Regions from separate parts of the Homo sapiens genome. Here region 2 is linked to region 1. Evidence: promoter capture Hi-C in human tissues and cell types (Jung and others, 2019). All regions are on one chromosome and are shown on one strand. Each heading gives the region's core, a stretch centred on a gene start or on the middle of the fragment in contact. The rest is flanking DNA. Distances are from core to core; before and after follow the strand shown. Region 1 holds the start of SCGB2A1 (secretoglobin family 2A member 1). Region 2 has its middle 32 kb from the start of SCGB1D1.

Region 1 (5,017 bases), core at 1,107-3,606:
TTGGACATCACCATCCACTCATCCAAGTCTCAGCTGAAACAGCACCTGCTCCTACAGGCTGCCTTGGGGGGCTTACAGGCCACTGCCCCTGGGCAGGCCATCTATGACAGCATTCAGCTGTTGTGAATATTTTGTTGTTCTTTGCAGCAATGACCACTTTCTCATACCTCTGATATATCTTTAGTCTTGTTCTTTGTGTCCTTCATTAGAAAATAAGGTCCACAGGAGCAAGCACCTGGTCTAACCTGTTTCTATAACTGAATCTAGTGCAAGGCCCAGCTCACAGGAGAAGCAAAACAGTGATGCGTACAACAAGGGATCCACGCATGAATGCAACTGCCATTTATTCAGAATTATCTCATGCTTGGCTGCGTGATTAAAAATTTACAGAGCGTCGGCCGGGAGCGGTGGCTCAAACCTATAATCCCAGCACTTTGGGAGGCCAAGGTGGGTGGATCACGAGGTCAGGAGTTTGAGACCAGCCTGGCCAACATGGTGAAACCCCCATCTCTACTAAAAATACAAAATAAATAAATAAATAAATAAATAAATAAATAAATAAATAAATAAAAATTAGCTGGGCGTGGTGGTGCACACCTGTAATCCCAGCTACTCAGGAGACTGAGGCAGGATAATCGCTTGAACCCGGGAAGGCTGAGGTTGCAGTGAGTTGAGATCACGCCACTGCACTCCAGCCTGGGCAATAAGAGTGAGACTCCATCTCAAAAAAAAAAATTTACAGAGTATCTCTCATCTTTACAAAAATTCACGGCCAGGCGGGCACGGTGGCTCACACCTGTAATCTCAGCACTTTGGGAGGCCGAGGTGGGTGGATCACCTGAGGTCAGGAGTTCGAGACCAGCCTGGCCAACATGGAGAAACTCCGTCTCTACTAAAAATACGAAAATTAGCCGGGCCTCGTGCCACATGCCTGTAATCCCAGCTACTCAGAAGGTTGAGGCAGGAGAATCGCTTGAACTCGGGAGGCGGAGGTTGCAGTGAGCCAAGATCGTGCCACTGAACTCCAGCCTGGGCAACAGGGCAAGACTCTGTCTCGAAAAAAAAAAAAATTCAGCATCACTTATACCCGTTTCACAAAGACAGAAAGGAAGCCCAGAGGGACCAGCATTGTAATTTGCCCAAAGACACAGCATGAGTACGTGTGGCCTCCAGGATCCACACCCACACCTGCCCAAATCTTATCACCTAAATCTCATCATCACCCAACCCCATTGCCACCCACTGCCTAGCACTGCCTGCCCAAGCAGTCAGTTACTCCACTCACTCACAGCATCCTCTCAGTCAGTGGATAGAAAACCGTAAAAGGCTAACAAAGAACTAAGCACAAATTAAATTATAAATATATTGTAAAATAAATTTGTAAAGTTGAATTAACTTAGTGTTGTAATTCTTAACAAGAATAACAAGAAGCTTTCAGTAGAGGTTAGATATTAATGTTTTCCCCAAAACTTAAAGCACTTTTCGGGGCTGGGCATGGTGGCTCACGCCTGTAATCCCAGCACTTTGGGAGGCTGAGTGAGGTGGATCTCCTGAGGTCAGAAGTTCGAGACCAGCCTGGCCAAAATGGTGAAACCCTGTCTCTACTAAAAATACAAAAATTAGCCAGGTGTCCTGGCGCATGCCTGTAATCCCAGCTACCCAGGAGGCTGAGGCAGGAGAATTTCTGGAACCCGGGAGGCGGAGGCTGCAGTGAGCCAAGATCGCACCACTGCACTCCAGCCTGGGCAATAGAGTGAGACTCTGTCTCAAAACAACAACAACAACAGCAACAAAACCCCAAAAAACAAAAACAAAAAAACCCGCTTTTCTGAAAAAGAAATGTCTATGGATTAGGAAGGTCTGCCTCCCATAGGAAGATGCAGGTATTGCACATAGCCCAAATATTTGATGATTCCAGGACCGGCAGATACACAAGTTATGAAACTGTTTGTACCTTGAAGAATAACGAGAAGAGGAGGAGACCAAGAGGAATAGAAGAAAAAGAATAGAAGGAGGAGGAGGAAGAAGGGAAGGAGGACTAGAAGAAAACTACAATAATAACAACATTGTTGAGACCACAAGATCACGCCACTGGGTTTTGCTTTATATTTTGGAAAACACTGTCACATCCATTTTACTAAAAGCCATGTATCATTATTGTAGTCCCCAGATTGTCAGGGATCCAAATATTACTGCCTTCTTGGTTTCTACAAACAGAGCACAGGCTGGCTGTGTTCCCATTGGTGTACACTATTGTGTCCTGGTCCCATGCCAGGTTGACACATTGCCTCATTCCTGGGAGGGACTAAGGTGCCTCCCTGGGGAATAAATAGAGCAGGGCTGGGTACTCACCTCCACAGCAACTTCCTTGATCCCTGCCACGCACGACTGAACACAGACAGCAGCCGCCTCGCCATGAAGCTGCTGATGGTCCTCATGCTGGCGGCCCTCCTCCTGCACTGCTATGCAGGTGAGTTCTGGGCAGAGAGGGCTGCTTCTGGGCTAGGAATTGTCACCTGGGCCCCTGTAGAAGAACTCCCAACCTCTAATCCCCAGCACAGACGAGCCCCAGTGTGAAGGGCCTGGGTGCGATAGGCCTTAGGATCCCCATGAGTTCCTGACAATCAAGCATGCAGTGTCCTCATGGGCTGTCCCCTGCATTGGAGCTGCACACAGTGTATCATGGCACTCAGCGTCTCACCATGGTCACGGTGACCATAGAAACCAGGATGAGTCTCAGGATTAAATATTGAAATGAACTATTTCAGTGGGGCAAGGGAGAGATGGCATCTACACCTAGAAATCAGGAAATAATCATGGGTCTCCTTGAATATGGAACGAAATAGGAAACCTCCCAGGACAGAAGGCCCAGGCTGCAGAGTGTGACCCAGTGTCTCTCACCCTGTGTGGCTCACTCTGTGTTCTCAGAGTTGATCTGGGTCCTTCTGGGATGCCCTTACCCTCCCAGTTGCTTCAGGCTCAAGGCAGACAGGTGAGAACTCACAACCCCTGGAGTCTCCTTCCAGCACTAAAGATTCAGTGGGAGGAAAAAGCCCCGGCTGCTGGAATCAGCGCTAATATTTCCATAGGTAGCCTGCCTTGTGCAGTTCACAAAGGTGGATTCCAAACCCTACCGTATTGGCATCCAAGGTAGGTGCAGATGTGTAGAAGGGTGACAAGCTCACAGTCAACTAACTGGAAAATCACAAAGTCCAGAGCACAACCAGCTCACATGAAGCCACGTCCTGAGCTCGTTCCTCTCCCTTACAGTGGGAGGTGACCTCAGATCCCCTCATGAACAAGCTCTATTTCACATTCATGTGTGTGTGTGTGTGTGTGTGTGTGTGTGTGTGTGTGTGTGTTTGAGACAGGGTCTTGCTCTGTCACCCAGGCTGGGACTGGGACTGGTGTGCAATGGCACAGTCTCAGCTCACTGCAACCTCTTCCTCGAAGGCTCAAGTAATGCTCCTGCCTCAGCCTCCCGAGTAGCTGGGACTACAGGTGGACACCACTATGCCTGGCTAATTTTTAAATTTTTTGTAGAGATGAGGTCTCCCTGTGTTGTCCAGGCTGGTCTTAAACTCCTGAGCTCAAGCAATTCGCCTGCCTTGGCCTCCCTAAGTGCTGGGATTACAGGCGTGAGCCACCATACCTGGCCACACATTCCCTTTTATTGCAGTAGAGTCAACAGAACTAATGGACAATGTCCTAGACCCATTCATCTGAAATCCTTGGAAACCCTACCTGATGCTGGGCATGATAACAGGGAAGCATTGCATGACTTTGAACCAAGAAAGTCCAAGTAGTGTTTGCTATGTCCCCCCAGTCAGAACACCTCATTTCTCGAGGGTCCTCTTCACCAAGAATACACAGGGTTGGGCTTCTCTGGGTTTGGAAGGTCAGAGAGAATTTGCAGAGCCTGAGTTTACACTCCCAGAATTGAGAACTCTGCATACTGCACCAAAATCTTTCTGAACCTCGGTCTGTCCCTGGAGGTACGAAGATAGCCAGCTTCCCAATTCATCTGTAGAATGAATCACACCTCTAGTAATGGCCCATGTTCTTGTGTCTTTTTTTTTTTTTTTTTTTTTTCCAGATTCTGGCTGCAAACTCCTGGAGGACATGGTTGAAAAGACCATCAATTCCGACATATCTATACCTGAATACAAAGAGCTTCTTCAAGAGTTCATAGACAGTGATGCCGCTGCAGAGGCTATGGGGAAATTCAAGCAGTGTTTCCTCAACCAGTCACATAGAACTCTGAAAAACTTTGGACTGATGATGGTAATTTGGGTTTCTTCTTATGTACCCTTTGAAAATCACTGATCAGAACCAGCGGGCTCTAAATTTGGCACCAAGAATGCCAAGCAACTGGTGAACAAACTTTCTTTATATATCAATTCATTAAACTTTGTCTCCAGGCTGCTTTGCCACTTCACATTGAGAATCTTTAGGGAGTGATAAATGGAAAAGGCAAAAAGGAGAAAAGAAAGCCTTAGAGATCACCCGTCTACCTCTGACCTCACCAGTCCCTTCTCACACAGACACAGACACACATAAGCACACAAGTATAGACACACACAGACACACGGGGACAGGCATCGGCATTTTTTTTTTTTTTTTTGAGACGGAGTTTCGCTCTGTCACTCAGGCTGGAGTGTAGTGGCGTGAATCTCGGCTCACTGCAACCTCCACCTCCCGGGTTCAAGAGATTTGCCTGCCTCCACCTCCCGAGTAGTTGGGATTACAGGTGTGCGCCACCACGCCGGGCTAATTTTTGTATTTTAACTAGAGAAGGAGTTTCACCATGTTGGCCAGGCTGGTCTCAAACTCCTAACCTCAAGTGATCTGCCTCCCTTGGCCTCCCAGAGTTCTGAGATTACAGGTCTGAGCCCCCGCACCCAGCCAGAACATGCACATTTTTATCAAGAGAAAATATCTGGTTCTCAAGAGATCACACACTTGTAGGAGCAATCTACTAAGAAATTTCCTACTTTCACAAAAACAAATATTCAAA
Region 2 (5,017 bases), core at 1,579-4,078, 50 kb before region 1:
ACAAAACTCCAGCAAACACTTCCTAGTGAATGTCTAGATGCATTCCTCCTGCTACCAAGTCAAGTACAAGGATGCCCACTCTCATTCCTTCTGAACATTTTATGGTAGTTCTGGCCAGCACAGTAAGGCAAAAAGAAAAAGGCATTGGGAAAGAAGAATTAAAACCTGCCAGAGACAACTTGTAGAATATCTGATAGTATCTACCTAAAAGCTATTAGGATTAATATGGGCTTGGCATACAAGGTTAATATACAAAAATCTATTGTATTTCTATGTACTAGCCATGTGCAACCAGGAATTGAAATTTAAGGAATACAGTTTATAATGTCCAAAATTATCAAAATCTAAGGAATAAGTCTGACAAAAGATCAGGAAGACCTGTGCAATACAGTGAGAACTTCAAAAGGTTGCTGAGAGAAATCAATGAAGACTTAAGTGGGATATATACTGTGTTCATGGATCAGAAACTCAGTGTACTGAAGATGTCAGTTTCCCCCTAAAAGATTTAGCCCAGTCTTAACCAATTCCAAATGGCCTTTTATTTATTTATTTATTTTGGAGAGTGTCACTTTGTCGCCTAGGCTGGAGTGTAGTGGCATGATCTCTGCCTCCCGAGTTCAAGTGAGTCTTGTGCCTCAGCCTCCCAAGTAGCTGGGACTACAGGTGTGTGCCATCATGCCTGGCTAATTTTTGTATTTCTAGTAGAGATGGGGTTTGCTATGTTGGTCAGGCTGGTCTCACTCTAGTGATACACCTGTCTTGGCCTCCCAAATTGCTGGAATTACAGGCATGAGCCACTGCACCCAGCCCCAAATGGCTTTTTTTTTTTTTTTTTTTGGATAGAAGCTTATGAAAAAATTTGGTTTTACAATTTATATTTATGCTGGGTACAGTGGCTCACACCTATAATCCTAGGACATTGGGAGTCTGAGGTGGGCGGATGGCTTGAGCCCAGAAGTCTGAGACCAGCCTGGGCAACATCGTAAATCCCTGCCTCTACAAAAAATACAAAAATTAGCTGAGCACGTATCTGTAGTCCCAGCTACTCAGGAGACTGAGATGGGAGGATCACGTGAGCCTGGGAAGTCCAGACTGCAATAAGCAGTGATTGTGTCACTGCTCTCCGGCCTGGGTGACACAGCAAGACCCTGTCTCAAAAATTGTATTTAACAGCATAGGACCTACAATAGCTAAAACAACTTAAAAATAACAAATTTGGAGAGGTCACACTACCTGCAAGGCTCACTTCAAAGCTACAGGAGGAGATTGATTTGAGTAATAATAAAACTCCGATCTCCCGCACAGCTGGCTCTGCATGAATTACTCTTTCTTTATTTTGATTCCCCTGTCTTGATGAATAGGCTCTGTCTAGGCAGCGGGCAAGGTGAATCCCTTGGGCAGTTACAAATTTGGGGGCTCATCTGGGATTGCGCTTGTGGCTACATGCTTGTGGTTCGGTGGACCCCCTTCAGTGATGGATCCAGTGTCAGCCCAAGCGGCTGCCTAGTTCTCAAAGCTACAAGAATCAGGATAGTATATTGGTATAAAGGTAGTCATAGATACATGAAATTTTATGGAATCCAGAAATAGAACTACACATATATAATCACTTGGTTTTGGCAAAGGTGGAAAGGCAATTCAATGGGGGCAGCATAATTTTTTCAACAAATTGTCGTGGAACAACTGGATACGTTTTTAAAAAGCTCCAGCCCTTCTTAACACCATATATCAGGTTTAATTCCTAATGGATCATAGGCCTAAATGTAAGAGCTAAAAATACAACACTCCTAGAAGAAAACGGATTGCTGGGAAGATGGCCAAACAGGAACCTCTCTAGTCTGCAGCTCCCAGTGAGATTGAGGCATAAGGCAGGTGATCTCTGCATTTCCAACTGAGGTACCCAGTTCACCTCACTGGGACTGGTTGGACAGTGGGTGCAGCCCACAGAGGGCGAGCCAAAGCAGGGTGGGGCGTTGCCTCACCTGGGAAGTGCAAGGGGTCGGAATTCTCTCCCTACCCAAGGGAAGCCGTGAGGGACTGTGCCTGAGGAACAGTGCACTCCAGCCCAGATACTGCACTTTTCCCAATGTCTTTGTAACCTGCAGAACAGGAGATCCCCTCCAATCCTACGCCATCAGGGCCCTGGGTTTCAAGCACAAAACTGGGTGACCATTTGGGCAGACACTGAGCTAGCAGCAGGAATTTTTTTTTCCCATAACCCAGTGGTGCCTGGAACGCCAGTGAGACAGAACCATTACTGCCCTGGAAAGGGGCTGAAGCCAGGGAGCCAAGTGGTTTGGCTTGGTGGGTCCCAGCCACCACAGAGCATTGGTGAACATGAAAGTGACAGGGAGAATGGAACCAAGTTGGAAAACACTCTTCAGGATATTATCCAGGAGAACTTCCCCAACCTAGCAAGACAGGCCAACATTCAAATTCAAGAAATACAGAGAATACCACAAAGATACTCCTTGAGCAACCCCAAGACACATAATCGTCAGATTCACCAAGGTGGAAATGAAGGAAAAAATGTTAAGGGCAGCCAGAGAGAAAGGTCAGGTTACCCACAAAGGGAGGCCCATCAGACTAACAGTGGATCTCTCTGCAGAAACCCTACAGGCCAGAAGAGAGTGGGGGGCCAATATTCAACATTCTTAAAAGAATTTTCAACCCAGAATTTCATATCCAGCCAAACTAAGTTTCATAAGAGAAGGAGAAATAAAATCCTTTACAGACAAGCAAATGCAGAGAGATTTTGTCCCCACCAGGCCTGCTTTACAAGAGCTCCTGAAGGAAGCACTAAACACTGAAAGGTACAACTGGTACCAGCCACTGCAAAAACATACCAAATTGTAAAGACCATCAACACTATGAAGAAAATTCACAACTAACAGGCAAAATAACCAGCTAGCATCAAATTTGACAGGATCAAATTCACACATAACAATATTAACCTTAAATGTAAATGGGCTGAATGCCCCAATTAAAAGACACAGACTGGCAAATTGGATAAAGAGTCAAGATCCATCGGTGTGCTGTATTCAGGAGACCCATTTAACGTGCAAAGACACACATAGGCTCAAAATAAAGGGATGGAGGAATATTTACCAAGCAAATGCTAAGCAAAAAAAAGCAGGGGTTGCAATCTTAGTCTCTGATAAAACAGACTTTAAACCAACAAAGATCAAAAGAGACAAGGGCATTACATAGTGGTAAAGGGATCAATGCAACAAGAAGTGCTAACTACCCTAAATATAAATGCACCCAATACAGGAACACTCAGATTCATAAAGCAAGTTCTTAGAGACATACAGAGAGACTTAGACTCCCACACAATAAGAATGGGAGACTTTAGCACCCCACTGTCAATATTAGATAGATCAATGAGAAGAAAATTAACAAGGATATTCAGGACTTGAACTCAGCTCTGGACCAAGTGGACCTTATAGACATCTACAGAACTCTCCACCCCAAATCAACAGAATATACACTCTTCTCAGCACCTCATCACACTTATACTAAAACTGATCACATAATTGGAAGTAAAACACTCCTCAGCAAATGCAAAAGAATGGAAATCGTAACAGTCTCTCAGACCACAGTGCAATCAAATTAGAACTCAGATTAATAAAACTCACTAAAAACTGCACAACTACATGGAAACTGAACAACCTGCTCCTGAAAGACTACTGAGTAATGAAATGAAGGCAGAAATAAAGATGTTCTTTGAAACCAATGAGAATGACACAATGTACCAGAATCTCTGGGATACATTTAAAGCAGTGTGTAGAGGGAAATTTACAGAACTAAATGCCCACAAGAGAAAGCAGGAAAGATCTAATATCGACACTGAAACATCACAATTAAAAGAACTAGAGAAGCAAGAGCAAACAAATCAAAAGCTAGCAGAAGACAAGACATAACTAAGATCAGAGCAGAACTGAAGGAGATAGAGACACAAAAAACCCTTCGAAAAAAATCAATGAATCCGGAGTCGGTTTTGTGAAAAGATCAACAAAATAGATAGACGACTAGCCAGACTAATAAAGAAGAAAAGAGAGAAGAATCAAATACACGCAATAAAAAATGATAAAGAGGATCCTACAGAAATACAAACTACCATCAGAGAATACTATAAATACCTCTACCCAAATAAACTAGAAAATCTAGAAGAAATGGATAAATTCCTGGACACATACACCCTCCCAAGTCTAAACCAGGAAGAAGTCGAATCCCTAAATAGACCAATAACAAGTTCTGAAATTGAGGCAGCAATTAATAGCCTACCAACCAAAAAAAGTTCAGGACCAGATGGATTCACAGCCGAATTCTACCAGAGGTACACAGCCGAATTCTGGTAGAAGGTACCATTCCTTCTGAAAGTATTCCAAACAATAGAAAAAGAGGGAATCCTCCCTGATTCATTTTATGAGGCCAGCATTATCCTGATACCAAAACCTGGCAGAGACACAACAAAAATAGAAAATTTCGGGCCAATATTCCTGATGAACATTGATGTGAAAATCTTCAATAAAATACTGGCAAACTGAATCCAGAAGCACATCAAAAAGCTTATCCACCATGATCAAGTTGGCTTCATCCCTGGGATGCAAGCCTGGTTCAACATAAGCAAATCAATCAAGGTAATTCATCACATAAACAGAACCAATGACAAAAACCACGATTATCTCAATAGATGCAGAAAAGGCATTCGACAAAATTCAACACCCTTCATGCTAAAAACTCTCAATAAACTAGGTATTGATGGAACATATCTCAAAATAATAAGAGCTATTTATGACAAACCCACAGCCAATATCATACTGAATGGGCAAAAATTGGAAGCATTCCTTTTGAAAACCACCACAAGACAAGGATGCCCTCTCTCACCACTCCTATTCAACATAGTATTGGAAGTTCTGGCCAGGCCAATCAGGCAAGGGAAAGAAATAAAGTGTATTCAAATATGAAAAGAGGAAGTCAAATTGTCTCTGTTTGCAGATGACATGATTGTATA

What was found. The method cuts DNA at HindIII sites, captures the fragments that hold promoters and counts their contacts. A contact is called where the count stands out against the background at its distance.
Region 2: a fragment that was not itself captured here is called in contact with the fragment with the promoter of SCGB2A1 in region 1 in 1 of the 25 tissues and cell types used here (stomach).

Annotation. Positions count from the first base shown.
Region 1 is chr11:62,206,317-62,211,333 of GRCh38, forward strand. It overlaps SCGB2A1 (secretoglobin family 2A member 1), which reads left to right and starts at 2,357. Exons shown (of 3, transcript NM_002407.3): 1 at 2,357-2,470; 2 at 4,097-4,284. The coding sequence starts at 2,416. The HindIII fragment of the contact is 8,670 bases long and covers 690-5,017 here.
Region 2 is chr11:62,155,998-62,161,014 of GRCh38, forward strand. No RefSeq gene overlaps it. Among named protein-coding and RNA genes, the nearest start is that of SCGB1D1, 32 kb to the right of the region's middle. The HindIII fragment of the contact is 4,857 bases long and covers 401-5,017 here.